7 separate regions of the Homo sapiens genome follow, and regions 1, 2, 3, 5, 6 and 7 are each linked to region 4. Evidence: promoter capture Hi-C in 16 types of primary human blood cells and fetal thymus (Javierre and others, 2016). All regions are on one chromosome and are shown on one strand. The core of a region is centred on a gene start or on the middle of the fragment in contact, and the rest is flanking DNA. Distances in the headings are between cores, read along the strand shown. Region 1 holds the start of IFNA2 (interferon alpha 2). Region 2 holds the start of LOC107987053 (a long non-coding RNA gene). Region 3 has its middle 12 kb from the start of IFNA14. Region 4 holds the start of CDKN2B (cyclin dependent kinase inhibitor 2B). Region 5 overlaps LOC107987053 (a long non-coding RNA gene). Region 6 has its middle 7.3 kb from the start of IFNA8. Region 7 overlaps LOC107987053 (a long non-coding RNA gene).

What was found. The method cuts DNA at HindIII sites, captures the fragments that hold promoters and counts their contacts. A CHiCAGO score of 5 or more calls a contact.
Region 1: a contact is called between the fragment with the promoter of IFNA2 here and the fragment with the promoter of CDKN2B in region 4, in 9 of 17 cell types (total CD4 T cells, activated CD4 T cells, naive CD8 T cells and 6 more). The highest score is 15.7, in total CD4 T cells.
Region 2: a contact is called between a fragment that was not itself captured here and the fragment with the promoter of CDKN2B in region 4, in 1 of 17 cell types (M2 macrophages). The highest score is 7.3, in M2 macrophages.
Region 3: a contact is called between a fragment that was not itself captured here and the fragment with the promoter of CDKN2B in region 4, in 2 of 17 cell types (fetal thymus and total CD4 T cells). The highest score is 7.7, in fetal thymus.
Region 5: a contact is called between a fragment that was not itself captured here and the fragment with the promoter of CDKN2B in region 4, in 8 of 17 cell types (activated CD4 T cells, naive CD8 T cells, total CD8 T cells and 5 more). The highest score is 10.3, in activated CD4 T cells.
Region 6: a fragment that was not itself captured here is called in contact with the fragment with the promoter of CDKN2B in region 4 in 1 of 17 cell types (total B cells); the score reaches 5.1 in total B cells.
Region 7: a fragment that was not itself captured here is called in contact with the fragment with the promoter of CDKN2B in region 4 in 2 of 17 cell types (activated CD4 T cells and total B cells); the score reaches 7.3 in activated CD4 T cells.

The regions. Positions count from the first base shown.
Region 1 is chr9:21,384,086-21,386,785 of GRCh38, forward strand. IFNA2 (interferon alpha 2) reads right to left here and starts at 1,313. Exons shown (of 1, transcript NM_000605.4): 1 at 170-1,313. The coding sequence starts at 1,244. The coding sequence ends at 678. The HindIII fragment of the contact is 9,842 bases long and covers 1-2,700 here.
Region 2 is chr9:21,267,013-21,269,957 of GRCh38, forward strand. It overlaps LOC107987053 (a long non-coding RNA gene), which reads left to right and starts at 577. Exons shown (of 3, transcript XR_001746634.2): 1 at 577-722; 2 at 1,620-1,944. The HindIII fragment of the contact is 1,090 bases long and covers 995-2,084 here.
Region 3 is chr9:21,250,766-21,253,465 of GRCh38, forward strand. No RefSeq gene overlaps it. Among named protein-coding and RNA genes, the nearest start is that of IFNA14, 12 kb to the left of the region's middle. The HindIII fragment of the contact is 266 bases long and covers 1,158-1,423 here.
Region 4 is chr9:22,008,034-22,010,758 of GRCh38, forward strand. It overlaps CDKN2B (cyclin dependent kinase inhibitor 2B), which reads right to left and starts at 1,272. Exons shown (of 2, transcript NM_004936.4): 1 at 765-1,272. The coding sequence starts at 920. The region is part of intron 1 of CDKN2B-AS1 (CDKN2B and CDKN2A antisense cis and trans regulatory RNA 1); the gene reads left to right. RefSeq lists a silencer at 614-813. The HindIII fragment of the contact is 2,577 bases long and covers 562-2,725 here.
Region 5 is chr9:21,318,940-21,321,639 of GRCh38, forward strand. All of the region lies in intron 2 of LOC107987053 (a long non-coding RNA gene), which reads left to right. It also overlaps the pseudogene IFNA20P. Among named protein-coding and RNA genes, the nearest start is that of IFNA5, 15 kb to the left of the region's middle. The HindIII fragment of the contact is 168 bases long and covers 1,182-1,349 here.
Region 6 is chr9:21,400,477-21,403,176 of GRCh38, forward strand. No RefSeq gene overlaps it. Among named protein-coding and RNA genes, the nearest start is that of IFNA8, 7.3 kb to the right of the region's middle. The HindIII fragment of the contact is 1,209 bases long and covers 786-1,994 here.
Region 7 is chr9:21,336,412-21,339,255 of GRCh38, forward strand. LOC107987053 (a long non-coding RNA gene) reads left to right here. Exons shown (of 3, transcript XR_001746634.2): 3 at 210-890. Among named protein-coding and RNA genes, the nearest start is that of KLHL9, 2.4 kb to the left of the region's middle. The HindIII fragment of the contact is 4,111 bases long and covers 1-2,844 here.

The DNA of each region.
Region 1 (2,700 bases), core at 63-2,562, 620 kb before region 4:
TGCAGAGAGAAATCATCGGTTGTTCCTTCTTCTCTTCATACCATTTACCATAACTGATAATTAAGTATGATTACCATTTTTAGTTTTTTTCATACAAAAATCAAATACACAAGAGAGCAGAATTGTATTTGTTAGGTTCACCTTGTTATCTTGAGTACAACATACAACCTGGTTTACAGAAAGTTTATTTTTACTTATATCTTGAATATAATATTGATGGATAAATGAAGTGTACCAGTTATTCTGTAATCAGGTTGCACAATTAGGCTTGGAATTTCATTTTAAAGAATAAACAAGTACAAAAGTTTCCATAGCAAAAGTTCAATGAACAACACAAAATAAATTTACCAAATACAAAGAACATATTTTATTACATTAACCACTGTGCAAAGGTGCACATGACATAATATGAACAAAAATAAGTTGTTTTATAAATAGTTAAATAAATAATATTTTAAAAATATTTAAATAGATAATGGATCAGTCAGCATGGTCCTCTGTAAGGGACTAGTGCCTTAAGAGCTGAATACAATGTTGATTAATACTCCTAAAAACATTTGAAAAGATTTAAATCGTGTCATGGTCATAGCAGAAACATGAGTCTTTGAAATGGCAGATCATAAAAAGGTGAGCTGGCATACGAATCAATGAAAATCATTTCCATGTTGAACCAGTTTTCATTCCTTACTTCTTAAACTTTCTTGCAAGTTTGTTGACAAAGAAAAAGATCTCATGATTTCTGCTCTGACAACCTCCCAGGCACAAGGGCTGTATTTCTTCTCTTTCAGATAGAGAGTGATTCTTTGGAAGTATTTCCTCACAGCCAGAATGGAGTCCTCCTTCATCAGGGGAGTCTCTGTCACCCCCACCCCCTGTATCACACAGGCTTCCAGGTCATTCAGCTGCTGGTAGAGTTCAGTGTAGAATTTGTCTAGGAGGGTCTCATCCCAAGCAGCAGATGAGTCCTTTGTGCTGAAGAGATTGAAGATCTGCTGGATCATCTCATGGAGGACAGGGATGGTTTCAGCCTTTTGGAACTGGTTGCCAAACTCCTCCTGGGGAAATCCAAAGTCATGTCTGTCCTTCAAGCAGGAGAAAAGAGAGATTCTCCTCATCTGTGCCAGGAGCATCAAGGTCCTCCTGCTACCCAGGCTGTGGGTTTGAGGCAGATCACAGCCCACAGAGCAGCTTGACTTGCAGCTGAGCACCAGGAGGGCCACCAGTAAAGCAAAGGTCAAGGCCATTGTAGATGTTGCAGATGCTGCTAGACTGGTTGAAATGGGTGAGCCTAAACCTTAGGCTCCAGGTTCTCTGAAGACCTTGCTTTGTGCCTAGCCTTAAATAGGGAACATACTCGTTTACATTTTCCAAATGCCCCTGTGTTACTTTCTACTTCTCTTTTTGCTTTCTTTATGCACTCTTTACATGGGTTTTCAGCTGTTTTTCTCACCACATTTTTTTCATTATTGTTTCCTTCCTCTTTTACCCCAGAGCCTTTTTAGAAACTTTTTTCTGATTGAATCTCCCATTATATTTTAATCACATATACACTGTGTATCTATTTACATATCCTATGTATATCTCTATTCTATACATTAAATTAAAAAGTATAAAGTTAATGTTTTATTATTGCAAAGAATGATAAAACAATTAAAAATTAAATTAAAAGGCTATTGACATTTTACTTAACTTGATAACTATATTCTTAGAGCAACTTTTTTGAAAATAGATTTTTGTGGGTACATAAGAGGCGTCTGTGTTTATGGAATAAGTGAAATATTTTTATATAGGCAGACAATTCATAATAATCACAGCAGGGTGAATGGAGTATCCAATGCTTCAAACATTTATCATTTCTCTCTGCTACATACATCCCATTTATACTATTTTAGTTATTTTATAATATATAATAAATTATCATTAACAGTAGTCATCCTATTGTGCTATCGAATACTAAATCATATTCATTTTTTCTAACTATATTTTTGTGCCCGTTAGCCATCTCCATTTTCCCCCATATGATCCAGCAATCCCACTACTGGGTATTTATCCAAAGGAAATGAAATCAGTATGTCAACAAAATATTTACACTCCCATGTTTATTGCAGCACTATTCACAATAGCTAAGATTTGGAAGCAACTTAGGTGTCTAACAGATGAATGGATAAAGAAAATATGGCACTTATACACAATGGAGTACTACTTAGCCATAAAAAAGAATGAGATCCTGTCATTTGCAAGAACATGGATGGAGCTGGAGGACATTATGTTCATTGGACAACATTAAACCCATTGATCTGCACATACCTAACCACACTTGAATCTCTAGGACAAATTCCACTTGGTCATGATGAATGATTGTTTTAATGTGTTCTTGAATTCAGTTTGCTAATTTGTTGTTGAGGATTTCTGCATCAATGTTCATCAGAGATATTGGCCTACAGTTTTCTTTCTTTTTAATGTGTCTTTCTCTGGTTTTATATGTGATTAAAATATAATGGGAGATTCAATCAGAAAAAACACTGGCCTCATAGAATACATTTGGAAAGATTCTGTCCACCTCTATTTTTTTAATAATTTGAGTTGGATTGGTATTAGTTTTTTAAATATTTGGCAAAATTCATCAGTGAAGCCATCAGATCCTGAGTTCTTTTCTGGGATACTTTTTAGTATGGCTTCTGTCTCATTACTTGTTATTGG
Region 2 (2,945 bases), core at 290-2,789, 740 kb before region 4:
TGTCAATTGGGAGTCATTATAGTCTCTGAAATCTCTTTACTTATGGCAGTGCTCTAACTCAGAGTCAAGGTGGAATTGATCCAAGCTCATTTGTTATTCAAAGTGAGAGTGAGAATTTTCTCATGATAGTAAAGTCAAGGGACAGAATCTGAGAATAGGAAAGAATTTCTAAAACTGACAACTTACTTGTAAGAAAGAGCTAATGTGCCTTCAAATGAGATTTTTTTTCCTGATTTCCATTGGAGTTCTGCACCCAGATTGGCTGGCTGTACTGATTCCTTATATAACAGAATACATAGAGGGAGGGATGGAACAGGAGGCCCTTGGAGGCTGGCCAGGCTGGAGGTAAGGAACACATCCTGACCCTTTTTTCCCCACATAGCCATCCATTGCCAAAAAAAGTTAAAATGTGCCTGAGGCTGGGAGTATTTTCTCTAAGATACAAACATTAAGAAAAAGTGCTTATTCCCATACTGGGGTCAGTTCCTGACAGGAAAGAGCCTCTTTTTAACTCTGAAATGAAATCTCCTGCCAGGGACACACTTCTGCATAAGCAGAAAAGCTGCTCCTCACAGACTTGGCCGCTGTCTTGGTGCATTTTGGTCATCGGTGGCTCTCTTTTCCTGTAAATGTTTTAACAGCCTCAGAGTAAAATGGAGCCTATTGTGGAAGACTGAGTGCTGGTGGCATGGGGCTCAAAGGATTTACCAAGACAGTTGTAGGTAAAGGAAGGCAGAAAATTTATTAGGAAAATATGTTGCCAGAGAGACAACAGGCAGCCAGTGGAAGAGAAGCTGACTGCCAGGAGAGAAAGGCTTGCTGGAGATTTTATAGGATAAAATCTATGCTGTCTGTTGAAGAGGGCTTTGTGTGGTATTGATAACACAAAGGTTGCAGTGAGCTAACTTGCAGATGTCTACTGATAGCTGGGTACAGAAATATTATGAATGATTTGAGCAGGAGGACTGTGTGTCCCAGACTATAAAGAAAAGCAAGCTTGTTTTCTACCTGCTTCCTCTTTTTGCTTTCTCCTGCTCCCACCAGCCCTACTCTTTTTTCCGAATTAAGACTCCACAGAACCTGCCTTTTATTTCCCCTTTGCAAAGCTACTGTTACATCATTATAAAAGGGACATTCCCTCTTTTTCCAGAAATATTCCTAAGAAAAGAAAAACAGCCTGTTATATAAGAGTGTCTGAAAAAACTAGAACTTTCACTCAAGGTCGGCTTTAATTTGCAGTTTTGTATTCATAAGGGGAAAGTGATGGGCAAACCCCACAAGAGAACAGAAATCAGCTGTGTGAATAGGCACTGCAGGCTAATGAAGAGTGAAGAGGAGAGCACAGTGGGAATTTCTAGAGGAAGAGAAAGGAATCTAATGTGATATGGGAGTGAAAAATGGGATCCAGAAAAGCAGAGAGGAAATGGGGAAGTGGACCAGGTCTCAGAACCAGCAAAGGCTACTATGTATATTTCACTTAGTTTAGGAGACTAACTTCATATGGGAGCGTATGCTGGAATTCTGAGAGCCAGAAAAGGAACGTGCCAGGTGCCAGAATCAGTTAATAGGCATTATGTGTCTTCTGCATTTCAATCTACATGCTGCTTCTTTTCTTTCAGGTATTCATACAAACCAACATTTCCTGACTGAATGCAAATAGGACACTTCTTTGAAATGAGGAGCGACAAATTTTTAACCTTTCTAGAATTCATGACAGAATACTGTTTTTTTTTTTTTTTTAACGCTGTCTCCATTGAAAGTCAGTTACTGAATGGTAGGACACAATTCTTATGAATTTTGTAGAAAGACAAATAATATTCTCATCTACAACTGTGTGAAGAAAAATAGAAAAATACTTGCCATGTGTTAAATCCTTACACTATGGAGAATACTATGCAAACTGCTTTCAACTGCCTGCGTTCATTTAAGAATCACAACAACTATGTAAGTATTTCTAATCCTTTCTATTTATAAGAAACTGAGGCTCAGAGATATTAAGTGCTTTTTTTCAACATCACACATACATGCAAACAGAGTGAAATTTCAATGTTAAATTTTTTATTGTTATTTACAACTAATGTGTAAGCTTTGTATTGGGAATTTCTGCAATAATTTTAACTCTCTTTTGATTCCTGGATTATACACAACTCTCTCCTGCTCTCTGTATATCCTTGGTTCATGTTGTATTTTCGGCTGATTTTGACCAATCTTTTATTTTATTTTGTATTTTTATTTATTATTTACTTATTTTTTGAGGCAGAGTCTCACTCTGTCACCCAGGCTGGAGTGCAGTGACGCTATCTGGGCTCACTGCAAGCTCCGCTTCCAGGGTTCACGCCATTCTCCTGCCTCAGCCTCCCAAGTAGCTGGGACTACAGAAACCCGCCACTACGCCCGGCTAATTTTTTTGTATTTTTAGTAGAGAAGGGGTTTCACTGCGTTAGCCAGGATGGTCTCGATCTCCTGACCTCATGATCCGCCCACCTCGGCCTCCCAAAATGCTGGGATTGCAGGCGTGAGCCACCGCGCCTGGGCCCTATGTTTTGTTTTGTTTTGTTTTTTATTATTATACTTTAAGTTCTGGGATACATGTGCAGAATGTGCAGGTTTGTTACATAGGTATACATGGGCCATGGTGATTTGCTGCACCCATCAACTCGTCGTCTCCATTAGGTATTTCTCCTAATGCTATCCTTCCCCTAGCCCCCACCCCCAACAGGCTCCAGTGTGTGATGTTTCCCTTCCTGCGTCCACGTGTTCTCATTGTTCAACTCCTATTTATGAGTGACAACATGTGGTGTTTGGTTTTCTGTTCCTGTGTTAATTTGCTGAGAATGATGGTTTCCAGCTTCATCCATGTCCCTGTAAAAGACATGAACTCATCCTTTTTATGGCTGCATAGTATTCCATGGTGTATAGGTGCCACATTTTCTTTATGCAGTCTA
Region 3 (2,700 bases), core at 41-2,540, 760 kb before region 4:
TTCCAGCACTTTGGGAGGCCGAGGCAGGTGGATCACGAGGTCAGGAGATCAAGATCTTCATGGCCAATATGGTGAAACCCTGTCTCTACTAAAAATACAAAAATTAGCTGGGTGTGGTGGTGCATGCTTGTAATCCCACTTACTCGGGAGGCTGAGGCAGGAGAATCGCTTGAACCTGGGAGGAGGAGATTGCAGTGAGCTGAGATCGCACGACTGCACTCCAGCCTGGTGACAGAGCAAGACTCCATCTCAAACAAACAAACAAAAAACAAACAAAAGAATACAAAAAAAAGAGAAGAAGTTGTGATTCTTCAATACATGCATTATTGATATCTGTCCTGCTGGGAAGTCTCTGGCCCAATTGAAATGTACTCAAATACCTGCTGTGTCCCTTCTGTTCAGGCATTGTTTCATTTTTTACTGCCTTTAAGGAGGCTGCATTATGACTAGAATTTAAGAGATGCCTTGAATTGCATTGGCCCCATAAATAAGTTTGCCTGTAGTGTGAGAACTTGATGGGTACTAGGGAGGAAACAGGAGTTTGCAGCTGACACTGAAGTAACCCTGTCCCTTCCAATACTCTACAGGCTGCTGTAGTATCAGTGTCACCCATGCAGGGGACAGTGTTGGCCATGTCTCCACGGGAGCACTGTATGCTCTCAGCATCCACTTCAATCTTCTCTCCCTCTGATTTGAATATTCTGAACAGTTGACTCAGTGCTTCCATTGCTACTCCATTTTCTGAGGACCTTCCAGTCTTCTCTCCTCCTTCCAAATTCTAAAGCTGCTGCTGGCTCTGTCTTCATGTTTCATAATGTGGGCTTTGCTTTTTTCAACAAATGAGAGTCCTGAGCCTGGTGGAGTCTCTTCCTAGCGGAATCAGAATGTTGGAAGTCCCTAAAAAGAGGCACAAATGAGCTCCTGTATTCTTTACCCGCTCATTGGGTGTAGTGTTGTGGGCAGGACTCTCTCTATTTACTGTGTTTCTGTTCCCAGCAAAACATCCTTGACCTCTGCAGTGCTGAGCTTGCCAGGTAAGGGAAATCTAGGGGTGGTTACATTCTTTGGCCTCGTGAGCTCACAAAGCCCCGTTGTCTCCAGGTGGTACTGTATCATGATCTCTTGTATCTGTTCCAATGGAGTCAGGGCAGGGACTAAGCTTCCATGTGTTCCTCACCAGAGGAACTGTCCAGGGACTTGTATGAGGCAGGCTATAATAGGGCTCCTCTCTGCCAGCTCTGCCACTTCCTTTCATTGGGTCTCCAATACTTTAGAATATATAAAAAATTAACTTCTCGATATGTTCAGGATATAGTTACAGACATTTTTCAGGATAAGGTGACAATATGCAGCCACATCATACAATTTTTGCCCACTGAAATGATAAGCAACAAAAAACAAAAATAACATTAAAGAAATAAGAAGCTTAAAAGTAGTCAGGAATAAAAGGGTTTTTAATATATGAAAGGTGTTAAACCATCAAAGAGACAGAGGAGAGAGAACCAGGTATATTCAAAAGTGTTAATGTTTTCTTTCTGATCCTAAACTGGGCCCCCCACACTCAGTAGCTAATGAAAGAGAGGCAAAGAACAAATATATTGTAAAATATAACTTTGAATTTCCCAATTTCTCTCCTCTTCCATTTCAAAAGAGCCATATAAAGGTTGGGTCTGTAACTTGAGCAAAGAATTGAGAAATCTGTCCTAAGTTGAAGCCTCTTCCTACTAACCTAGCAATTCACACATGCTTCCTGGTTAACTTCTTCAAATACACCATTTCACAGATCACTTTAATGTTTCCCCAATTCTACCCAAATTGATACTTCTACTGGGTATCATTTGGCAAGAATTGTATCTTCTGATCCCTTTACAGATCTCTGTTCTCTCTCTTACTACTGAGTGAAAATAGAAGGGATGCAAGTTGAGTCATTATTGAAAATAACAGAGAATGTTCTCCTTATTATGAATGTAAGTGACATGATCTAAGGAATGAATTTGTAAAATTAGCAACTTACTATTAAGAAAGAGCTAATGTACCTTCAAACAGGAGATTTTAATGGATGTCCATTACAGTTCTACACCCACATTGGCAGGCTGTACTGAATCCTAGTGCAGCTCAATACATAAAGGAGGGATGAGTCAGGGGGCTGAAGTCAAGGGACACATTCTTACCCTTTCTCTCTCTACATAGCTGTCCACTGCCCAAAGGACATGTCCTGCTTGAAGCTGGGAGTACTTTCCTTCTCTATGATAAAAAAAATGAAGGAAATGGGCTTCTTCCAATATAAGGTTCAGCTCTTTCTGAGAAAGAGTCCTTTTTACCTATGAAGAAAATTCTGCAAAGGGACAGAATTCTTTATAGAAAAGAAAAGCTGACTCTCCACAGAGTTGGTGTATGTCTTTGTCATCATGGCCAGTAGGTGGCTGTCATCCTCTGTAAATAACTGAACAGCCTCCAGAGTAGAATAAATCTTGACATTTCCTTTTTCTTTAGAGAAAGTTACATCATTTTAACAAAAGTATTCATTCATTTCCAAAATTTTTCACCAGGAGGGAAAAAAAAAGACCTCTGATATGGATGTTTATGAAAAACCTAGAACTCTCACTTAACTTTTGCTTTTATTTGATGACTTTGTGCTCTTAGGGGAAAACTGACAGCCAAAAACCACAAGGGAACAGGAAGCAGCTGTACGAGTGGCAG
Region 4 (2,725 bases), core at 22-2,521:
TAAAAGAAATAAAAAATATCAGTACTAATTAAAGCAGGATTCGTACTTAAACATTGAATAAGTGTATTTTAACAATGAAGATAAAGATGCATTATTTATGAAGATCCTTTGCCATTCAAAAAGGACCTAACAGTTGCTGCAGGAATATTTTTGTAATCTGGGCACTGAGTATGATAATTAAAGAATGAGAAACCTATAGAACTATATATTTTTTCTCTTATGCATCACTCATAAGACACTGCTAACATAAAAGGAACTAAGTACTGTGGTTGAGGAATCCCGTCTCATTCTCAATTAACCTCTATGAGAAAACAATACAACAGATTTCATATAGTAGCTTAGAAGTTTACATTGATTTTTTCCATGTACTATGATTTTGTAGAATTCCTTAAATCCAATCTAGAATGCGTAACTTATACTTTACTTATCTTTATCGTTGAAAGCAGACAGACAAGATAATCTTCTTCCCTAAATAAGCTTTCCTTTTCTCCTTTTCTCCCCAATTCAGTCTATTCCTTGCATCTCTGATCATGAGATGGCAGAACAAAAACCACTAAAAAAAGCTTAAACAGTGGGTTTTTCAATGTCTCTCTTTAGGATTTTTGCTGGGTAAAAGCCTGTTTTACGCGTGGAATGCACACCTCCGGCCAACGGAGACTCCTGTACAAATCTACATCGGCGATCTAGGTTCCAGCCCCGATCCGCCGAGGCCGCGCCCCGCGTTCGCGCGCCCCCTGCCGGCGAGGCCCTGGGGCCCCAGCTACCTGGATCGCGCGCCTCCCGAAACGGTTGACTCCGTTGGGATCCGCGCCGGCTTCCAGGAGCTGTCGCACCTTCTCCACTAGTCCCCGCGCCGCGGCGCTGGCCAGACCCTCATCGCTGCCGCCCCCACTGGGCATGCCCTTGTTCTCCTCGCGCATTCCGCAGCCCCCAGACGCGCAGCGGCCCGGATAATCCACCGTTGGCCGTAAACTTAACGACACTCTTCCCTTCTTTCCCACGCTGCTCCGGCGCACTCTCTCCTTCCTAGGAGACCTGGGCTCAGCTTCATTACCCTCCCGTCGTCCTTCTGCGGCTTGGGGCCCCGTGCAGTGGCCGAGCGGCCGGTCGTTAGCTCCGGGCTTTTCCTGGCGCTCAAGAACCAGCGGGCGCGCCTGGATTGCTTCTGGGAAAAAGCGCCTAGCGCGGACGCAGCCGAGCTCAAAGCCGCTCTGGCCGCAGGGTGCGGACGCGTCGCGGAGTCCTCACTGCCCCGCCTCGCTCTGGCAGAGTGGGGAGCCAGCCGGCAAAGAATTCCGTTTTCAGCTGGGCCAAGGGGCCGGCGTCTCCCCACCCCCTTAGGCTCCGCCCCCTGTCCGCTGTGATCGCCGGGAGGCCAGGCCCGGGCCGACGCGTCACGAGGGCGGGGAAGCCTGCCCAAAGATGCTAGGACGCATGCGCCAGAGACTGGGCCAGGGAGCCGCCAGGAATGCTGGCTGCACTGCTCGCTGGATGTCCAGTAAAGCCAAGGCTAATATTTTGGGAATGTTCACCACTGCCCTCAGCTCCTAATCCCCAGTAGGCGGAGCAGAGGATTTCTGTTCCTTCAGCCAGCCAGTTGGTTTCACTGTGGAGACGTTGGTGGCTCCCTTGTGACCGAGAGAAAGTCATTCAAAATAACTCCGTGTTTCTTAAGATGTCTGAAAGCGACAGCTCTGCACCTGTCATACAAGTTAAATTCATCCCCAGGCAGTACTTGGGCTTCACAAGTTTCATAACTTGTATCAAACTTAGCAATTTTCTCTTGGATGTGTCTTTCTGTTTGAATTAGTCAACCATAAAAATAGAGAAAAATCCCGAGAATCATGTTTTGCGTGTGCTTTTTAATTCTTTCCATTTTTGCATTATGGATACAACCCTTAAAAGAGAAAAAAACTAGTTCGAGATTGAGAGTGGCAACCTGGCACACATAAGACAAAAAAAAATTATACTTTAAGAATCTGAGATCCCAGTTTCATCATATTTGTACAGTAAATCTTTGTTTGCACTCTTACCTATTTAAACCCACTTTGTCAGGTATCTTATTTTTATTTATCATGAGTAATAAAGGAAATTTATGCAGTAATAATGAAACATCATAAGAGAGGGGTGTGGTGCTGGGCTTGTCATTAAACAGGCTGAACCTGTCATTAAATTCTCTTCTGAAGATTTAAATGCCAAGTGCTTTTTTTCCCCTTCCTAATCTTCCTAGGTGAGTTTGAATCAACATTTATTACTTAAAATATTTAAAACATTTCAGCGGATGCTACATTGGATAGGAAGAGAACCGCAAGTTATGGATTTGTTGCCTAAAAACTTTGGTGAGGAACTGCATAAGTGGACCTCTCCTAAAAGTGAACAATTTTTGTTTACAGAATCATTTTGGTTCGGAGTGCTGAGGAAGACAAAGTCTTAACAGGAGGGCAATTGCTTGTGTATTGCAAAATGAGAGTCTTCACATGTTTTTTTTAGGATACCTTAGCTCTGACTCCTCATCCCCCAAATCCCTGTAGAATTAAAAAAAGCTCTTTCTTTTAAAGGCAGTGGAAGTGCCACCACCATGGAAGTGCTGGTTAGGGCTGAAAATCTACTGACAGAGCCTCAACAGAGCTGAAATCCACCTGGACAGGGAAGGGAACCGGGTAGCATTAATAACAATTTCTTTTTCTTTCCCATCCAACCCCCATTTCCTAGTCTTCAGTTTCTT
Region 5 (2,700 bases), core at 16-2,515, 690 kb before region 4:
ATTTTTCCATGGCTGAAAATCAAGGTAGTCCCATTTCCAATCCCCCTCCCTCCAGAAATATATATATGTATATATATGCTTGTATATACTTAAATTTTATGTAACATAAAATAAGTTTATATACTTATATTAATATACATTACATTTTTAGATTATGTATTTTGTAATTAATATGTGTAAATATAATTATGTATACTTAAGTATATACAGCTTTAAGTATTATATACTTTTACAATCTCATATAATTTAATATATGCTTATTATATTATACTTAACATATTAAAATATATTAAATTTGTATATTATTAAATATATAAGTATACATAATTTAAGCATATGTATTTAAATATACATAAAGAATATATAGGCCTGGCGTGGTGGCTCAGGTCTATAATGCCAGTACTTTGGAAGGCCAAGGCAGGAAGATTGCTTGAGGCCAGGATTTACCAGCCTGGTCAACAGAAGGAGACACCATCTCTACCAAAAAATAAAAAATTAGCCAGGTGTGGTAGTGCACACCTATAGTCTCAGCTATTTGGGAGGCCAAGGTGGGAGGATCACTTGGGCCCAGGAGTTCGAGGATGTAGTGAGGTATGACAGCAGCACTGCAGTCCAGCCTGAACAAAAGAGTGAGACTTTTGTCAAAAAAAAAAGAATATATATTTATATATCTTATATATGTTTTTGTACATTTAAAAATCCATATGTAAATATAATGTGTAAAAATATGTATACATTTATATATTTTAATATATATACTTCAATATATACTTTATATAGAATAACATATATACGATATGTTATATATACACATATACAATATAGCATATAACATATATTGTATGTTATTAAATACATTACAATATTTACTTATTTATTTGTATTTAAATATGTATATATAAATATGTAAGTGTATATTCTGTATATATCTATAGGTAACTTTATATAATACTATATTCAGTTAGTTTCAAATCACCTTTTTTTTTTTAGGGTTGAGTTAGAGAGTTGTAAAGGCTAGGAAAATGGTTTACAAAATATGTTTTACTTGGGCCTAAAAATAATCATCAATGGTGATTTGAAACTAACTGAATCTGAGTAAAGGGATTATTTTATTTATTTATACTATTCACAGAGCAGCCATTTTCTATCGCAACTTGCTGAGACACTGGTTCCCTGGAACAAGCTTCATGGGGGCTGTACAATTTTTCCTCTGTGCAAGGCACTACTCTGACAATGGGAACCTGGGCTCTGCTCCTTCACAGTTTTACAGACAGTCCCCTTTCCTAGAGTTTCAATTTGAGGGACATCAACGTGTTAGACCTCAGGAATGTCAGGGGAGCTGCAATCAAAGCTTCTCTTGTCTGGATTTGGTTAAATGTGGACTATACAGGATTATGTTATTTATTACATTGAAATTAAAGGTAACTATCATTTACCATGTTCAGATTCTCAGCCAGTAATTTGCAAACTTTATTTTATTTCATCTTTGCAGTTTCCTATGTGACAACTATTAAAATTGTCTCAATTTTGCAGAAGAGGAAAGGAAAATCTGATGTTGTTTAAGCTCCCAGGAGCCACAGATGTTGTCACAAAGTGGCAGTTTCTACTGCCTCCCAATTTCCCTCTTCATTAGCTTTCAGTTCTTCCTCTTGGCTGCACTGAGCATGCTAGTGTTTAATTAATCACAATCATGTCTTAAATGCCATTCTTTGAATCCATGGAGGGTAGTCATCATCCTGTATTACTTATCTGTTAATCTAAATTGCCAAGCCTATTGTCTGTCACATATATGCAGTAAAGACATTTTTAGTGACAGAACAAAGACAACTGGATGACTTAACCCTGGGTTTTCGAGTTTTATGCCACCGTTATCTACAGATTATAAGCTGTGGCTCTTGTAAAGAAAGGTGGAAGAAATCAAACCTAGTGTATTAGCCACTTAAAAGAGAAATGCAGAGAGGTGAGGAAACATGTATTTCAGTGCAGTTTAAGAAGTAAAAATGTCCAAGATCAAACCTCTAAGTATACTTATTAGAATTTTAAAAGAGACATAGATTGAGACTCAGATAGGTTGTTATTTCAACATTGAGCCTCATTTGGATGGGTATTTCCTATTAGATTGAGAGTTTTGCCATTTTCTGAGTGTGTTTAATTTCCATTGTCATAATACAAAAGAAGTGTTGAGGTCATGACATTATCTGAGACCCATAAATAGAAGAGAAAGTGAACAAAGTAGAAATAAAGTTGAGATAAGTACAAAAACTGAAAACCCTAATCTGGTTATGTAAGAATCTCACAACAAGAAAGTGCTGAGACAGGTGGGTAAAGACTCAAATGGCCTAGCCAGCTGTATCCCACCAATGACCCGGCCAACCTCTTCCCTAGTGACACTGAGGATGATATTCTGCAGTTCTCTCTGCAGCTTTAGCTGTGGCCTAGCCCAGAGCCATGGGCTGCCATAAATAGGTGACCTTCAAAGTTCTGCACCAAATTGGGAGAATCTTTCTTTTCTTCCTGTCTGAAGAACAAGAATGTTTTTTAAGTTTCCCCTAGAGCAGCCGCATGGCACCAAATTCCAAAAGGCTCAGGCCACCAATGTTCTTCATGAGATGATCCAGCAGATCTCCAACGTTTTCAGCACAAAGAACTGAAATTCCTCACTGGGCTTGATCAGTAGCTAGAATTTCTGGAGACCTGTTT
Region 6 (2,700 bases), core at 140-2,639, 610 kb before region 4:
CAGGTGGAGATAATTGAATCATGGGGGCAGTTTCTCCCATATTGTTCTCGTGGTAGCGAATAAGTCTCACAAGATCCAATGGTTTTATAAATGGGGGTTCTCCTCCCTGCACAAGCTCTCTCTTGCCTGCCACCATGTAAGACATGACTTTGCTCCTCATTCACCTTCCGCCATGATTGTGAGGCCTCCCCAGCCATGTGGAACTGTGAGTCAATTAAACCTCTTTCCTTTATAAATTACTCAGTCTTGGGTATGTCTTTAGTAGCAGCATGAGAACAGACTAATACAGATAGTAACCTTTAGTATAATCTATATAGTTTGCATTTGTGAACTATATAGAAAAAATATATATATACATACAACCATGTATTTATAATCTGTATAGTCCATATTCAACCAAGTCCATCCAAGAAAAGCTTTGATTGCAGCTCCCCTGACACTCTCAGGGTCTTGCACATTGGCGCCTCCTAAATGGAAACTCTAGGAGAGGAAATTGTCTGTAAGACTGGAAAATATTTTAAAGAAGTTTATTCTGAGCCAATATGAGTGACCATATCCTGGAGAAACAGTTTTAAGAGGTCCTGAAAAAGTGCACCCAAGGTGGTTGGGTTATAATTTGGTTTTAGACATTTCAGGGAGATACGAATTGCAGGTAAAATCATAAATCAATACATGGAAGGTATACAGTGGTTTGGCCAGAAAAGGCAAGACATCTCAAAGTGGGGATTTAAAAGTCACAGGTGGGTTTCAGGGATTCTTTAGCTGGCAATTGGTTGAAACAGTTAAGCTTTGTCTAAAGACTTGAAGTCATTAGAAAAGAATGCTTAAATTAAGATAAATGGGTCTGCAATCTGCCATATGGTATTATATGAGAGTTAGGTTAGAAAGTGAGCCACATTTTACTGGGTTAATTTTTAAAAATCCATTTAAGGAGATTTTATGGTTTGCAGTACATAACTCTCGCCTTGCATGGCCTTAGGTCTTGCTTATAATTTGGTATCTTATTGCCACAAAGTCTGTTTTGTCTTATTATCTCTCTTATAACATCAATGCTGGCCAGTTTGTGTCCATACTCCAAAACGGAGGGGGATATAATGAGGCGTGTCCATCCTGCTTCCCATCATGGTTGAGAATTCAGTTAAGGTTTTTAGGGGTTCCATTGGCCAAAAGGGGGCATGTTCAGCCAATGGGTGGCTTAGTATTTTATTTTTAGTTTTAGTTTATAACTCTATATCTATATATATATGTAAGTATATGTAGAATATATACTTACATTTTATATATTATGGGTATTTAAATATATAAATATATACATATGTTATAATTTTATATAAAGTATATGCTGAAATATATAAATATGTATACGTAAGTATTTAAATGTACAGAAACACACATATAAAATAGATCAATATAAAAATATATATCCTTTATATATTTAAAATATATACTTAAATTATCAACTCAAATACTATTTTAATACAATATTAAAATTGGAAATTAATGCCTAAACATCCATGATGAGGCAAATATCAAAATTTTAATTAAGTAAAGGCAGGAAATGTAAGATGACCCTGAGGGTCTTACAAAGGAGAGGGGCCAGTGTAACAAATTATGGCAAACTCCACTCAGGCTATAAAATTCTTACCCTAGAAAATAAAAAGTTCTGACCTGCTCCTCTACTCTTTGTAGGCAACACTGCTCATTTCTCTTTTCAGCAACACAAGTCAAGGTGGGGTCTTGAGGAAGGGCTTTCAGTAAACCAAAGTTAAATAAAATTATCTCAGTGTCACTGAGTCACTGGAAATGTCAGACATGGCACTTCTCCCAGATAAAACAAAGTAGGGATCTTGAAAGCATTGCTGAGTTTGCTTCCTTTAAAGCTAGGGAAGTAAGATCACAACATTCTTGTTTTGGTATAAAGTATTTAAAATAATGCTGTTGAGTTTTAACATACCTGAATTATGGTTTCAGCGACACTGGCGTCTGAAGCTGAAAGCTTAGCTCCTGGCACACCCTGGGGCAGGCACGGGCGCCTCTCTGCTCCTGGCCCGGTGCGCGGCGTCCCCAGCCCCGGGCGCTCCCAGGACCCGTCCGCTCGCCCCAGGGTCCAGCGTGTCCCCTTCCCCAAGACGTCCCCGCCCTGCGCCCCCACACAAACGGAATCCCCAAGATTAAACCCGTGCGATCTCGAGCCCTCAAGTCCCGGAATCAACGGGTCCCTCTGTAAAAACAAGTCTCGCTGAAGTCTCTATGGGAAATAAAAGCCCCAAACCCAGGGGAAAATCCCGAAAATAAAAGGTGCCCTGCTGGCTACCTGAGGAAGATGTCTCAAGGGAGACCACGGCGGAGCTGCCTCCTGAGCAGCAAAAGAGATTTTTTTACTCAGGTCGAAGCTGCACAAAGTTGGCGCGATAAGCCGCGACGACGTTTCCCTGGGGCTGCGGGACGCCCCGAAACTCAAACCCGCGGTTCCCAAATCCTGGGCATCAGGAAAACCCATTCTGGCGCCTTGCTGCGGCCGTGGTGCGCAGCGCTGGGAGCTTTGCGCTCTTTGCGCAGCGGGCCCGCGCCCCTTCGAGGCCGGCTAGTGAATCTCTGAAATCACAGTGGCCTACACCTCCCTGGTAATGGCGGGAGTCATCATGCTCATCTCCAGCGCTGCCTGCTCACTTGGCAGGGACAAGTCTTGGAGCCATGGCT
Region 7 (2,844 bases), core at 89-2,588, 670 kb before region 4:
TCGTTTTTATGTAAAAGATAGCATACCATGTACACTGTTCTGCATCTTTTTTTTTCACTTCAAGATCTTCCTGAATTAGTGTAGAGGGCTTATTTATATTTTTAAACAATTCTGTTGTTGCCTTCTGAGTTGTTACATCATAAGTTATTTAACCAGTGCCCTGTTGATGGGCAGTTCATCTGTTTTGAATGTTTTCTATTGTTTCCAAGGGATGGCAGCAAAATTCAGAAGGCTTAGACTACCACTGTCCTCCACAAGGTGCTCCAGCAGATTGTCACCTTATTCAACACAAGAGGTTGGTTGGAATGAAACTGGCCTGGAGAAATTATTCACTGAATTTTTATCAGCATTGGGAAGTCCTGGAGCCCTGCTTGTTGAATGAGTTAGGGGTGGAAGGGCTCTCTCAGGCCATGACAACTCCCTAATGCTGTGAAGAGCTACTTCCAAGGAATCAGTCTCTATCTGGAAAAGAAAGAAGAGAGCCTCTGTACATGGGAAGTTGGAGCAAGAAATCATGAGATCCTTCTTTTTTTCATCAAACTTGCAAGTAAGATTAATAGCTTAGGAACAGACTTGTGTCTTCATGAAATGATTACTATAGACACTCTTCATTATATTCCCATATGTTTAGTTATTTTAAAAGACTATCTTTTCTGCCTGCATAATGAAATGATTGAATCAAATTTGTCACAATACTTGTTGGTAATGTCAAGCAACTGTATGATAAAGCATCCAGTTCTTAGGGGCATTAGCTCACCATGGATGATATTATTAATTTACCCATGTACTTAATTATTGATTCTACTACATTTATTGTATTCAGTATTTTTGCTTGTATGAAATGTTCACTTTTAACACTGTGCTAATTACATTAAAAAGTGTTCACTTTATGTATATTTTGTTTGTTTGTTTTGTTTTGTTTTGTTTTGACGGAGTCTCGCTCTGTCACCCAGGCTGGAGTACAGTGGTGCGATCTCGGCTCACTGCAACCTCCGCCTCCCAGGGTCAAGCAATTCTCCTGCCTTAGCGTCCCGAGTAGCTGGGACTACAGGTGCGCGCCACCATGCCCAGCTAATTTTTTGTATTTTTAGTAGAGATAGAGTTTCACCATGCTGGCCAGTCTGCTCTCAAACTCCTGACCTTGTGATCCGCCTGCCTCAGCCTCCCAAAGTGCTGGGATTACAGGCGTGAGCCACCATGCCTGGCCCCTCACTTTATATTTTGAAAATTATTCTCTTTATTATTTCGAGTTTTACTTTCAGATCATTTTGCATTTGTTTATTTAAAAAAAACAAACACAAGGTCTTGCTCTGTCACTAAGCTGGAGTGCAGTGGCAGGTTCATAGCTCACTACAGCCTCAAACTCCTAGCCTCAACAATCCTCCCACCTCAGCCTCCCACACTGCTGGGATTACTGGCATGAGCCACCATACCTGGCCTTACTCAATAAATCAATGCCAAGGTTGGTTTTGCAACCTCAAGTGAAGTTCAGTTCATTCATTCCATTCACACTGTATGAAACACTTGATATGTGACTTTTCAGGATAGAAAAGTGAATAAAGGAAACACAGCTTCAGCCCTCTTGAAACTTTTTGCTGAGGGAGAAATAAAACTATTAACCAATTAATTAATTTCAACTCTATCATAAACTCAAACCATAGGCAAAAGAAAAGTGGTTTTTGTCATCAGAAACTGGAAGACTTTAAGCCTTGAAAATTGGATACACAGTTCTGGGATTTAGAGTGCATGGCTAGAGATGTTCATTTGGGAGCTGGGCTATACCTTTTTCCTGAAGGCCCAAGGATGGATGAGGTCTGGTAGAAATTGAGTAGTGAATCAGAAGACCAAAACCTGGATCTTGAGGACCTTTACATCTTAATGTAGTGAACAGAGTGAGGAACCTGAAAAGGGCATGTGAATGAAATGATAGGAGGACATCCAGGAGCAAAATAGGAGGACAACCAGGAGAAAATTGTGATAAGAGGGTGTTTAAGGGAAGAAATGTGTTTAAAACATGACGTTTTACATTTAGGAAAAGAAAGGACTGGTTTGCCAGAATTAATTTGGCAAAATCCAGATTGGAATATATTGACTAGAGTAAATAGCAGGAGAGGTTGGAGACACAGTGGATGGAAACTTCTTTTAGAAGTTTATCTGTGAGTGGAAGAAGAGCAAGAAGGTAGTACCTGGAGAAAAATGTGTGTTTGTATTATCGGATATAATTTTGTAACCTTTTTACAAACTTTTATTTAGGATTGATTTCAGGGAATGGATATAATGGCACAAAGCATATAAAATTAATACTTTATTTCATAGGCTATATTGTCTTACTGCTTATTTAATAATCTAAAATTTCAAGAATAATTGTTTAATAGTTTTTGAGTACTAGTGGGCTATAATGCCTTTCCATTTGCTTCACTTGCTGTTCTTAATTCTATTTAGATTTCATTTTATGGCATTAATTGTAGTTTTTATTGTTCTTATGAATTATGCTTTTATACGCCCCTCTTAAAAGTATATATAAACCCTTTATGTAGATGTTAGCTATATTCCCTATGATGCAACTTTCTCGATTTTGTTTACATATAACTGTTATTTTCCTTTACATTTCTCCTATTGCCAGACAATTGAGAACATCTAAAACTTATGGAAAATGCGTTTGAAATCCTACTTCTTTCTTTCAAACAAATGGGCTCTCTTTATTAATGTGGATAAATAAAATCCAAATACTCTTCAGAGAGAGTGTAGATGACTGCTCAGAGAGCTCATTTATCACATTCTTCGTACACCAGGGATGCTAATTGTGCAAAAATACTGAAACCTAAGTAAGGCTGGACAAGGATG